4 separate regions of the Homo sapiens genome follow, and regions 1, 3 and 4 are each linked to region 2. The links are contacts of gene promoters, found by promoter capture Hi-C in blood cells and fetal thymus (Javierre and others, 2016). All regions are on one chromosome and are shown on one strand. Each heading gives the region's core, a stretch centred on a gene start or on the middle of the fragment in contact. The rest is flanking DNA. Distances are from core to core; before and after follow the strand shown.

Region 1 (2,960 bases), core at 438-2,937, 150 kb after region 2:
ATCCCAGGCACTATTCTAGGAAGTTTTATGCATTAATTCCCACAACAACTCAAAGAGAAAAATGAAGAAGCTGAGGCACAGAGATGTTAAAGAAACTGCCCAGGGAAACCCATCTGGGGAAATGGTGGAGCCTGGATTCAAATCCACCTCCTCTGGCTTTGAGCATGTGCACTTGATCAGTGCAGACTTCCTTCTCACAGCAGCACAGACTGTTTCCAGAGTGCCAGGCACTAATCCAATTTCTTTAGATGAGTTGATTTAATCTTAATGTAGACATATATTAAGACCATATATATTTAAATATAGATGTGTACCACCATTTTTTTCATTTTACAGATGAAGAAACTGAGGTGGGCAAACTATGGTCCATGAGCCAGATGTGGACTACACCCTGGTTTTGAGTGGCTCACGAACTGGTTTTCACATTTTTTAAGTGTGGAGGAAAGGGAAGGAAGAGATGAAAGAAGGGGAGGAAAAGGAGAGGAGAAATAAGTATCACATGTGGCTCACAAAACCTAAAATATTTTATATCTGATCCTTTATAGAAATGATTTACAAACCCCAGTTCTCTCAGTTCTACAGTTAAGAGCAAGGCAAGTGGATGCCTCAGATAAGGACTGCATCTTTCAGCCTCATTGGAACTAAGGAAGACCATGAGGCTTTGCTTTGAACAAGAGAAAGCCCAAGCATCGGCAGCTTCTGAACATCTTGGTTCAAAACAGCAGACATGCCCCACCACTGTCCTGTCTTCTTCTATTTTTTAAAAAAATGTTTATCTGACAGATAAAACTGTGTATATTTCAGCTGGGTGCGGTGGCTCACGCCTGTAATCCCAGCACTTCGGGAAGCCGAGGCGGGCATATCACCTGAGTTCGAGACCAGCCTGGCCAACATGGTGAAACCCTCTATCTACTAAAAATACAAAATTATCTAGGCATGGTGGTGTGCGCCTGTAATCCCAGCTACTCGGGAGGCTGAGGTAGAAGAATTGCTTGAACCCGGGAGGCAGAGGTTGCAGTGAGCCGAGATCGTGCCATTGCACTTCAGCCTGAGCAAAAAAATGCAAAACTCCACCTCAAAAAAAATTGTATATATTTATCATGTACAGTATGAAGTTGTGAAGTATATATACATTGTGAAATGACTAAATCTAGCTAATCAACATATTATTATTAGATATAGTTATCATTTGTGTTCTGGGAACACAACACCCACTGTCTTAGCATTTTCCAAGGATGCAATGTATTTACAATACCATATTGTACAATAGATCTCTCAAACTGATTTCTTCTAGCTGAAGTTTTGTACCCTTTGACCAACATCTCCCCCATGCCCAACCCCCACGCCCCAACCATTCTCTAGTCACCACTATGCTCCTCTGCACTTCTGGATTCCACATATGAGTGAGACTGTACCGTATTTGCCTTTCCATGCCTTGCTCGTTTTTTGTTAAATCTGGAGATCACAAAGTCCTCCAGGTTCATCCATGTTGCAGCCCTTGACAATATCTCCTTCTTCTTTCTCCCTTCCCTTCTTCTTTGCCTTTTATCCTTCCCACTGGTGGAGACGTGGTAGACAGCCTGTGTCCTGAAGGCTTTGTGGGGTAAAGCTGCCATAACTGTCCTGAACTGCCAACCTTCTAACCTTCGTGTGATTAAGACATGCCTTTTTACCTTTATTAATCACTGTATTTTAAGTTTTTGTTTCTCCCAGCTAAACCTACTGCTAACCAATAAAATATGATAATGTATTACTCTGACGTTCTGTTAATGTAACTTACTCAAAGATGTTGCATAGAGTTTGAGCTCATCCCACCCAGCCATCTAAAAATAGGTCCTCACTCCATATTATAGGGTAATGCTTTTTAAATTGAAACAAAATGATCATCTTTTCCTATACCTAAGTAGTCATTCAACTTTGTTTTCTGGGACAAATATAAAAGTGTGAGAATACTGAGTGGAAACCAATCTGACTTATAGGGTACAAAGCAAAACAAATTTCTGATTTCTAGCACAAATGTGTAGCTCAACTCACAAATCTAGGTTTTCTGTGTATCAGTCAGGGTCCTGGTGGGAAACAGATGGCACGCTCAAGCCGGGTAATGTGAGGAGTGTTATATAAAGAGACTGCAAAGGTGTGAGCAGGATGTGGGAATCAGTGAGGAATCATGGAATATCCCAGGCAGAGCAAGGAGGGAGAGTAGGGGGTCAGGGGGAAGGAGGAGGACTGTCTGGAAAGCCCCTAGCAGGGGCTGGAGCTTTTGAGATAGGCACACTTGTCCCGACAGCAACTGTGCAGGGAGAAACAGAGGGATCAGGAATTCAACACAGCAACTCCACGCCCTTCCTCCTGTTCCACACCCCGCAGGACCTCCCATCACAGAACCCGGCCTGAAGTCTGAGGAGGGAGCAGGGTGGGAAGTGTGGGGATGAGCATGGAGGGACCAGGGACAATAGCCATCCAGGTCTCCCAAGACAGAAAACCCAAAGTGTGTGGGTTAAAATATCCTTTGAGGTTCTAACTTAATTAATCATTATGCTCATGAAAAATAACTCCTTGCATTAGAAGCTCTTATTAGGTATCCCAATCCTTCTATTCTATGACGGACAGAGGGACACAGTGGATTAGAGCACTAGAGACTGTTTCCCAAAAATCTGAGGGGAAATACACTTCTGTGACGTGTTTGACCTTGAGACAAACGATTCTGGTGATCTCCTGTGTACAAATATGCAAGGTCTGATTTAGACAGCAGAGACACCCACAGCTAGGAAATTGTAGGTCATGGCCCCAAACATCAGAGGGTACTCAAGTACCATCCCTATTTTAATGTGAAATGAGGTACAGTCATCCTTCATTTGGAAACAGCAGCAACTGCAAACCAAACAATCCTTTTCTAACTCTTGAAAACTTGTTTTCAAAGTTTTGAGACAGACTACAACAAACCCTGTATGTTCCCAGAC
Region 2 (3,056 bases), core at 330-2,829:
ATCTTGGTTCCCAAGGGGAGAATGCTTTCACTAGGGTACACAGAAAGAGTCCTATTCAACTTTGAGCTCAGACTCCTTTTCTGTCACCTGGGTTCTTGTTGCTGAGAGATAACAGGCAAGGAAAATAGATACCGTCCTGGCAGGAGTCACTGACCCTGGTCACTGGAAGTTGTAGGGCTGGGGGCTTATTACATATTGGGACAGGATATATATAGCACCCAAGTGATCCACTGGGGTATCTCTTTACTGTTTCTGGCCCAAACTTGTCAGCAAATCAACAGGTTAGCAGGCAGAGAATCTGAAGGTCATGGTGACCAAGGGCTCAAAGGATCTGAGTCGTGCAACCAAGTAAACTGTCTAGATCAGCAGAGGAACTTGGCAAGGATGAAGGGAATGGGTAGAAGTATAGGTAGATAATGAAGTTAATATACAAAGCAAGTATAAAAGGATTCAAGCTGGAAAGGTGTAGATGTCTGTGTATACCATGGTATGCACCTCCTCCTCCCTTCAGGACTAAGGTACACATCTTCCCTACTGGCTGAAAGTGTGGGGAGCTGATGGGCGTTAGCTGAATTCACTTCTGAAAATTGCCCTCAACCTGAGAGCCATTTAACCCAAAGTCCCATCTCCCTGGGACAGCCCATATTCACACTTGCCTCAAGGCAGGACCGACTCTGAAGAGGAATCTATCACCAAAGCTCTTGGCAGAGTTGGCTAAGCCTTCCATAGAACCTGCACTGCAATTCAACTTCTCTCTGCCCAGTCCCGCTTCCCTCACATCTGACAGGTACTGCTCCCTGGCAGGCTGTGCTGCGTGATACACAATCTGTACATGGCTAACTGGACTGTATTTTTAGGAAATCAGGAGACAGGACCCTGGGGAAAAGTTACAGTCTTGTGCATTCATCTGAAATAGGCCTTGTGATTCCTAAGAGAGTTAACGGGCCACTGTAAATGACAAATTCACTTTTACCCAGTGAGGACTGTGAAGCTATTGCTCATTCTGTAAGGATAATCCCTGAACTTCATGAGCCAACTCTCTCACCTATGTCTTAGAAACTTTGTGACCACACTCATGTTTACCGAGCTACAGTGTGTCCAACAGTTAAACCTATAATTGAAGCCTTCTCCTATTACTCATGTCATAAATTCAGCGACTAATAAGTTGTTGCTATTTATTGATGGTTGGTTTGCTGTCATGGAACACTGATTCCATTGACAAGGTTATCTGATAACGTCAGGTTTATAAAAGGGGAGAATTTTTTTTCCCGTAAGGCCAAAGCTAATAAATGCTTTTTTTTCTCATTTAGTTGGGACTAAGTTTTATAAATAATAAATTAATTGCATATCGTCTACCACAGAATTTTTTTCATAAAATAACCAAGCCATTAAAAGATACAATTTAATAACAACGAGAGGAGTAACAGGAAATTTCCTCTGAATCGTGAGGTAATAGTAGGTAAGTGGGGTTCCCCAGCTGCCACTTCACACTGGGTGAATAGACCTTCCTTTGTGATGTAATTCCAGTGACAGCGTCACAATACACTGCTTCTATGCCAGCAAGGCATTTGGCATTCACCTTGATTATAAACCTTATCTCTCTACACTATAATCATCTTCCCAGTAACCTGGAAACACCTACAAGAGAACAGAAACTGTTTCTTGCTCCTTTTTATATCTCTGGTGCATAATATGAGGTCTGTGTGTTAGGAGCATGCTCAGTGAAAGACCACTGAAGTTGAGCCCCACCCAGATGTGAGCATATGAAGATGAATGTTGGTGAAAGCATGCGTCTTGCATCTGGAGAACTGCCTTCCTCCGGGAGAGCCATCAACAACCACCCATTACTGTGCAGATGATGGGACTAACTTCCCTTATCCATGTGGGCTTCTCTGCCCAGCTCCCCGCCACTGAGGATGTGTTTTTGCAAGACAGTCAAAGAAGAGACAAGAAGTAAGCCAGCAGAAGCCGGTGAGCCAAGTAACCCTAACTGGTCCACACAAAGATTGACTGAATGACTCCAACATCATGAACTGATCAGTTCCAAAGTCTACTCTTCAAGAACATGAACAATCATATCATTTTAAAGATAATTTAATCCTCACATGGACCAAAGTTTTTAAAGAAACAACTATTCAATCATCGGCTAAAACACAAAATTATACACCAACATTTGAAATACCATTCAATATAAAATATAAATAAATGTCTTTCAATTTATACTCAAAGACAATATGTTTTAGTTAAATCATTTGGGCACTCCCAAACTCCTTTTAAGTGCCCAGAGATTGACAGAGCAGTTCAGCTACTGCATAGCCATGGATTAGCTATACAATATAGAAACAGGATCTGGCTTCTTCAAAAACGTAATATGATGGATCATAGGGATGTACCCGGAAGAGCAGAAGTTGAATATAATAAGATAAAATTAGAAAATTGAAGATACTAAGAGATGAACATTATGTGGATTTTAGAATCAAGATACTGAAAGAATTCAGATACAGACATTTATTACTATTTTTGTTTGCTAGTAAATTTGGCTTCAATAAAGCCCACACTGTTATTTTAATTTGAGTAATACTTCAAAATACTTTCTTTTGAGTATATAATATAATAAAATATATGTGACTTTATATTTATTTTTCAAACAGTGTTATAAAACTTAAAAACTATTAGGAAAAATTAAACATAAATTATCTTATTTTGATCATAAAGAAAGATAAAAATAAAATTCACTTAGTTTATGAATATTTGCCTTACCAAAATCATAACTATATTTGAGGAAGGAATATTTAAAATAATCTTAAAAAAACTTTTAAAGAAGATTATTGCAACATCTTAATTGATCTTGGATAAGTACTGGGTTTTATTATAGATTGTATCTGCTAAAAAATATTAAATGTGGTTGAGTAACAGAAGCACCTTAATCATCTAAGGTAATCATATGCCAGTTAAATAAATGTATAGAATTGAGTTTAAAGTGCCTCAATTTTACCTTAACTAACTTGGTGAATAATCTAAATTCTCTTTTTTTTGCTTGAAGTTTGTATTTCTAA
Region 3 (2,705 bases), core at 28-2,527, 240 kb after region 2:
AACATGGTGAAACCCCGTCTCTACTAAAAGAAATACAAAAAAGCACCCAGCTGTGGTGGCGGGCGCCTGTAGTCTCAGCTACTCGGGAGGCTGAGGCAGGAGAATGTTGTGAACCCAGGAGGCGGAGCTTGCAGGGAGCCGAGATGCGCCACTGCACTCCAGCCTGGGTCACAGCAAGACTCTGTCTCAAAAAAAAAAAAACAAAAAAACAAAAAAAAACAGAAAAAAACATGCTAGGTGTTTTAGCAGAAGGAATTTAATACAGGGAACTAGTTTCACAGGCTTTAGAGGAATAAAAGAGTGAACAGCTGCAATAGCCCAGAGATCAGGCCTATGGAAAGCAGCTTCCCTGCCCCAGGGCTGGAGGAACAAAGCCTCAGTGTGGGAAGCTCTGATGGGGCCCTGCATGGGGCTGGGTGCTTCCTTGAAAAAGGAGGATCCCACAGAGCAGAGTGAAAACCTGAGGAGGGGCATGCTTCACCTCTTAGGGGACGCAGGAGGGTGATTTCAGGAATGCCCAGAAAAGAAAGATGTTAACGGCCACCAACCAGGGCATGCTGACAGGATGGCTTACGACTCTGCTTTCTGTTCTGCTGGCCACCTTCCCTATAGGCCCCACTATTGGTAGATGCTAACAGGGATCCTCTGTCTGAGGACAAACGAGGTTTGCAGATTTCCTTCTCCAGCATCCCAGATCCTTGAGGACAGCATTGGAGTTGAGAATTAGGAACCGCATGACTGGCACACAGAATATAGGACGCTTCCTCTAGGAACTCTTCGCTGATCCTCACCCTGGACCAAAGTCAGTCCTCCTGCACTTTTTCCCATGGCACTGTCGAGCCTTTCCATCCCGGAGTTATCCTCACCGAGTTGCTGGTCTCCCCTGCTGGGCCACAGGCTCTGTTAAGGGCAGGGACTGCGTCAGACTTCAAAACTTGGAGGAAAATAAATGCTAATCAGTGTTTTCTAAGTTCCTGCACTCGTGTCTTGGCACAGAAGGCGATTATAAATGTTTGTTGGATGTGCCAGGCATTGTAACAAGCAGTGTAAATATAGAGATGAATAAAATGAGAAACTTCTTCTTCAGGAACTAGTAGACTACCGAGAAAAAAATCAAGCACCGTGTCTGATCTTTAGAAAACTAAAAACAACACCAATAAGCATTTTGTTTATATAACATTCCATTAGGCAAGTTTTCATTCACTTGATATGTTAAATAGACAAATGAAAGGCTCTCCTAGAAGAGCTAAAAGACTCTAAAATCACAGTGTACTTAGGAGCTTCATAATACTATATAAGAATGTAATACACCAGGTTAGCATGTGAAAAGAATGAGCATCCTCCTAGACCATAGCTCCACCCAGGACGATTCCATGCGAATCTCCCCACTGCCACACCCTGCCAAGTCTCAACTCTCAAGCCCTGCATTCAAGATTCTTTACAAATGGGCCTCTATCTGCTGTGCCAACCTGATCCCACTGCACAGCTTGACTAATTTACATATTATTCCCTGAACACATCAGGAGCGATCATCCCATGTCTGTTTCTGTGCCTATCAAATAAAAATTTTGTCGAGCAAGAATTTATTTTGATATAAAGGTAGATATCAATATTTGTTTTCCACAAGTATCTACAAAGTCATTGCATAAACAATCTCTTCACCAGGAATTTTAAATGCTCTTTTTAATATATTCACAATTCCCCCTCTGAGTCCATGTCTACTTCTGGTGTTCCATTGTGTGCTGTGTATCATTTACCTCCTTTGGCATAAGCTATGAAATGTTTTCATTGCTGCAGCTCTCAAACCTATGATGCTGTGATGCCACCCCTTACTTAGGATCCTCAGGATCTTTAATCAGAAATGTTCCTTGCATCAGGATTAACTAGAAAACCACTTGTAATCTCATTTATTTCAACTATAGCAAGAGTTGCTTTTAAAAATCCTTACTTTTGGCCAGGCACGGTGGCTCATGCCTGTAATCCCAGCACTGTGGGAGGCTGAGGCAGGTGGATCGTGAGTTCAGGAATTTGAGACCAGCTTGGCCAGTATGGTGAAACCCCGTCTCTACTAAAAATACAAAAAATTAGCCGGGTGTGGCAGCGTGTGCCTGTAATCCCAGCTACTCAGGAGGCTGAGGCAGGAGAATCACTTGAATCCGGGGGGCAGAGGTTGCAGTGAGCCGAGATCGCACCACTGCACTCCAGCCTGGGGGACAGAGCGAGACTCCATCTCAAAAAGAAAAAAAAAATCTTACTTTTCCACCTCTAGATAGATAGTAAACTTAAATGCAAACACTGTATTTTGTTCTTTCTCATATTCTTCCATAGGATCCATGCTCTATGAGACTGCTCCAGCCAAGCTGCTGAAAGAAAACTCAGAAAGCTACTTGTAAAGGTAAATTTAAAGATGCATTATTTCCTCGGCATGAAAACATAATTCTCTTAACACAAAATTAGATGAACAAGCTGACTGGAATGAGACTTAACCTCAACAGGAAATAAATGAAGCGGGCTCACAGAGCCAAGCAGTCTGCAGAGGAGTGCAGGTCAGGGAGGCATTCTATCCTATCATGTTGGAGTGCTGCTTGATCTACAGCTGCTCCAAGATGCTCTCTCAGAAATGCTGGCTAGAAATAGCATTTTTCACTTTTGTGTTATGCATGAATCATGTGTGCGCACATACGCACGTGCGCGCGTGCACACAC
Region 4 (2,870 bases), core at 313-2,812, 210 kb after region 2:
GTAGATTCTTAAAAATCTGCCTACTTAGACACATTTCAATGGAATGTTTACATCTCAGTAATTATATTGAACAGAATGAAATATAACAAATCCAAGGAGAAAGGAATGGTGAGGGGTGGGGGAAGGGGTGGTCATCATGCTTTTATGACTGGATCCAGATGACATATCATTAATTGTTGAAGCTCTCTAGACTTTGAGTTCGACGTGGAGTTGATAGGGAGACTTCTGCAGAAGCCCTGTACTCAGACAGCAATCTGCTCCCACTTACAGAGCTCCATGAGTGGGATTTGCAGGCTGTCCATATTATATTGCCTTATTTGCCATCATTTTAGTCACTAGTAAATTAGCTGTGAAGACAAGAGTCAAAATAAAGGGGAAAAAAGGTGATGGTCTAACTGCACTGTCTGCCTAGATGAGGTGAAATCTTTTCTTTTAAACGCAACACAGAATGTAATTAATGTAAAGCAGAGGAACCTTTCACAAACAACAGGATCAGAGATTCCAATTACTCCCTCCTCTGTTCTTCAGGAACTTCTTGGGAGGTAATTATAAAACTCTTCCTGTAAGTAAAATGCAACAAGACTCCAACCATTGCTTCCCAGTGGGTTATGTGAGAAACAAGAAGCACAGAATGATTCTCACAGGTCAGCGTGTGTGTGAGTCAGCTGGAGTCCTGAGGCATCTCTCAGAGATTTGGGGGCAGTCACTCCCTGGCGGGCCAGCGATCTGGCCTTGAAGGAGTCCTTGGGGCCACCTAGGGTAAGAGTTTGGGGCCCTAGGAACTGTGAGGAAGAGTTAAACAGAACCCCGAACACATGATGTGGGTTGTGGCCTTCCCCCTAAATGCAAATGAGAGCTTGACAAAGGGAACCCGCAGGCAGCCAGCTGAGGTCTTAACATCCAAGTGGATCCTTTTGTGAAATCCATTCCTCTCTTCACCAAATCATTCACATTAGCCATTACATGAAGTCTTTGGTGTTTTTCCTTTTGCTACACACATTACTCATACAGGGAAGGGAAGTGAGCTGAGAGTTCAAGGGCACTTTTGACTAGAACCAGATGAATTGTTGCAGTTGCCTGGGAAACCTTTGAAAACAACCATACTTGATATGTCAAAGATCTGAAGTTAACAGGAGCCAAAGTCATCTAGAAGGTAAATCCAAGAAAGCTAATGGCATAAGAGGGACACTCGGCTTGTAAAAGTAGTTCCAATTTGTTATGCGTTCGTGAACTTTTGAAAAGAGGAAAGGATTTTATCATCCTAATTAGCCTATAAGAATGATCATCTTAAATGCCAACTTTCCGATTACAGAATAAAATTTAGTGAAGATATTTAGATCCCCTAAACATTTATGCATAGACGATGAAACTAGAGTTTTATAATAACCCTAAAACAAAATATAAATGTCTCCATAGATTTGTCCCCTCACGTTCTTTGGAATTCTGTTCCAGTCTAGTAGGTTTTTCTTTCCAGATTTCAAGTGTAAAATGTATGTCCAATGTAGAGTATCACGTGTTTTATTATAAAACAAAAAATATTTTCTGTGGTAATTCTGAGAAGAAAAAAATTAACAAGTAAAACAATGTGATATCATTTTGCATCAAGGAAATATGGATTTAATGGGAAACTTCCTTAAGCTGCATTTTGCTTCAAACGCTGTGTTGCGTAGGGAATCTTCCACGAATCTGAATTTGTGATTTTTTCAATATTTTTATCAAAAAAATCACCCCAAAAAGCTGCATAATGAATATTTGTGCACATGACTAATACTAGACTTCACATAGTCTTTTATAATAAAATAAATCAAAAGGATAATCGAAGTGAAAACATCTCTGACAGGGAAGTAAAATTTTGTCCCTTGCAACTCAATCCTTCCATGTTGAGGGACCCATTTCGAGATTAGCATGTTTGGGGAGTTTTATTATTATTTTAGAGATATATGGTTTTGGTGGAGGACGCTGTCCAAAAACGGCTACTTTCATGCAGAGATTTTCACTTTAAGTTTCAAGACATCTGTTTGGAAACTCCTCGGAGAGTTCATTGCTCTGCGCTGCCCTCTTCTGGTGAGCCTGTGTAAATGGTTTCTGGAAAACAGTCCAGTGCCGCCATCGTTTCCATCCTCCTCCATTTCCACCCCAATTCATCAATACATTGCTCAAGGGCCTGGATTTCCTATGTGGTGATGTACAAAGCTGAATTTTAATTCAAATAGTTTAAAGGTATAATCAAAGCAAAGGTTTTTTTAATTTGGAATTTTTTATTTTTACTTTTATTTCGTGTTGGAAATACAGGTTTTCCCAGATAACTTGCAAAGCCACAAACTAAGGACGCTGTCTCACCTAAAAAGTTTGGTTACAAAGTCAGTAAGAAAAATGATGTTATTTTTGAATAACATCAAACTAATTTAATGTAGGACTATGAATAATTTAATGTAGGACCATGTTGCTAGGAATGTCATTTTTATCTTGACCACCTGAACATAGCTTACAAGAGAATCACTACTTTGGCATAAATTATTTAGGTTTATCTGAAGGGACCATTCCTGCTAATTTGACAGCAATTTATCTGAAATAGTTAGAAAGATCAAGGCTCCAAGTTGTGTGCAATAAATGTATTCACCAACTGCCGGAAAATCAGAAGCTCTTCCTGACTGGAACACCACTGTGAGCCTCGCTGTCTGCTCTCCCCCAGTTACAAGTGCTTTCCTTAACCCACAGTCACGAGACAGAAAACTGTACAACCCTGAGAATCAACAGCTAATTTCTATGTGAACTGGAAGAACAATCTTGTCATAGTGCTAACGTTATGTGTATATATTGTACCAACAAATAAAAGTGGTTATTATGCTTTGCTCAAGAAACTCATCTAC

What was found. The method cuts DNA at HindIII sites, captures the fragments that hold promoters and counts their contacts. A CHiCAGO score of 5 or more calls a contact.
Region 1: a fragment that was not itself captured here is called in contact with the fragment with the promoter of ST18-AS3 in region 2 in 1 of 17 cell types (naive B cells); the score reaches 6.3 in naive B cells.
Region 3: a contact is called between a fragment that was not itself captured here and the fragment with the promoter of ST18-AS3 in region 2, in 1 of 17 cell types (total B cells). The highest score is 5.2, in total B cells.
Region 4: a contact is called between a fragment that was not itself captured here and the fragment with the promoter of ST18-AS3 in region 2, in 1 of 17 cell types (naive B cells). The highest score is 6.7, in naive B cells.

What each region holds. Positions count from the first base shown.
Region 1 is chr8:52,347,669-52,350,628 of GRCh38, forward strand. All of the region lies in intron 2 of ST18 (ST18 C2H2C-type zinc finger transcription factor), which reads right to left. Among named protein-coding and RNA genes, the nearest start is that of ST18, 61 kb to the right of the region's middle. The HindIII fragment of the contact is 4,159 bases long and covers 1-2,960 here.
Region 2 is chr8:52,192,783-52,195,838 of GRCh38, forward strand. It overlaps ST18-AS3 (ST18 antisense RNA 3), which reads left to right and starts at 1,580. Exons shown (of 2, transcript NR_134310.1): 1 at 1,580-1,971. All of the region lies in intron 8 of ST18 (ST18 C2H2C-type zinc finger transcription factor), which reads right to left. The HindIII fragment of the contact is 4,332 bases long and covers 1-3,056 here.
Region 3 is chr8:52,428,489-52,431,193 of GRCh38, forward strand. No RefSeq gene overlaps it. Among named protein-coding and RNA genes, the nearest start is that of ST18, 20 kb to the left of the region's middle. The HindIII fragment of the contact is 6,015 bases long and covers 1-2,705 here.
Region 4 is chr8:52,405,744-52,408,613 of GRCh38, forward strand. The region is part of intron 2 of ST18 (ST18 C2H2C-type zinc finger transcription factor); the gene reads right to left. Among named protein-coding and RNA genes, the nearest start is that of ST18, 2.6 kb to the right of the region's middle. The HindIII fragment of the contact is 6,295 bases long and covers 1-2,870 here.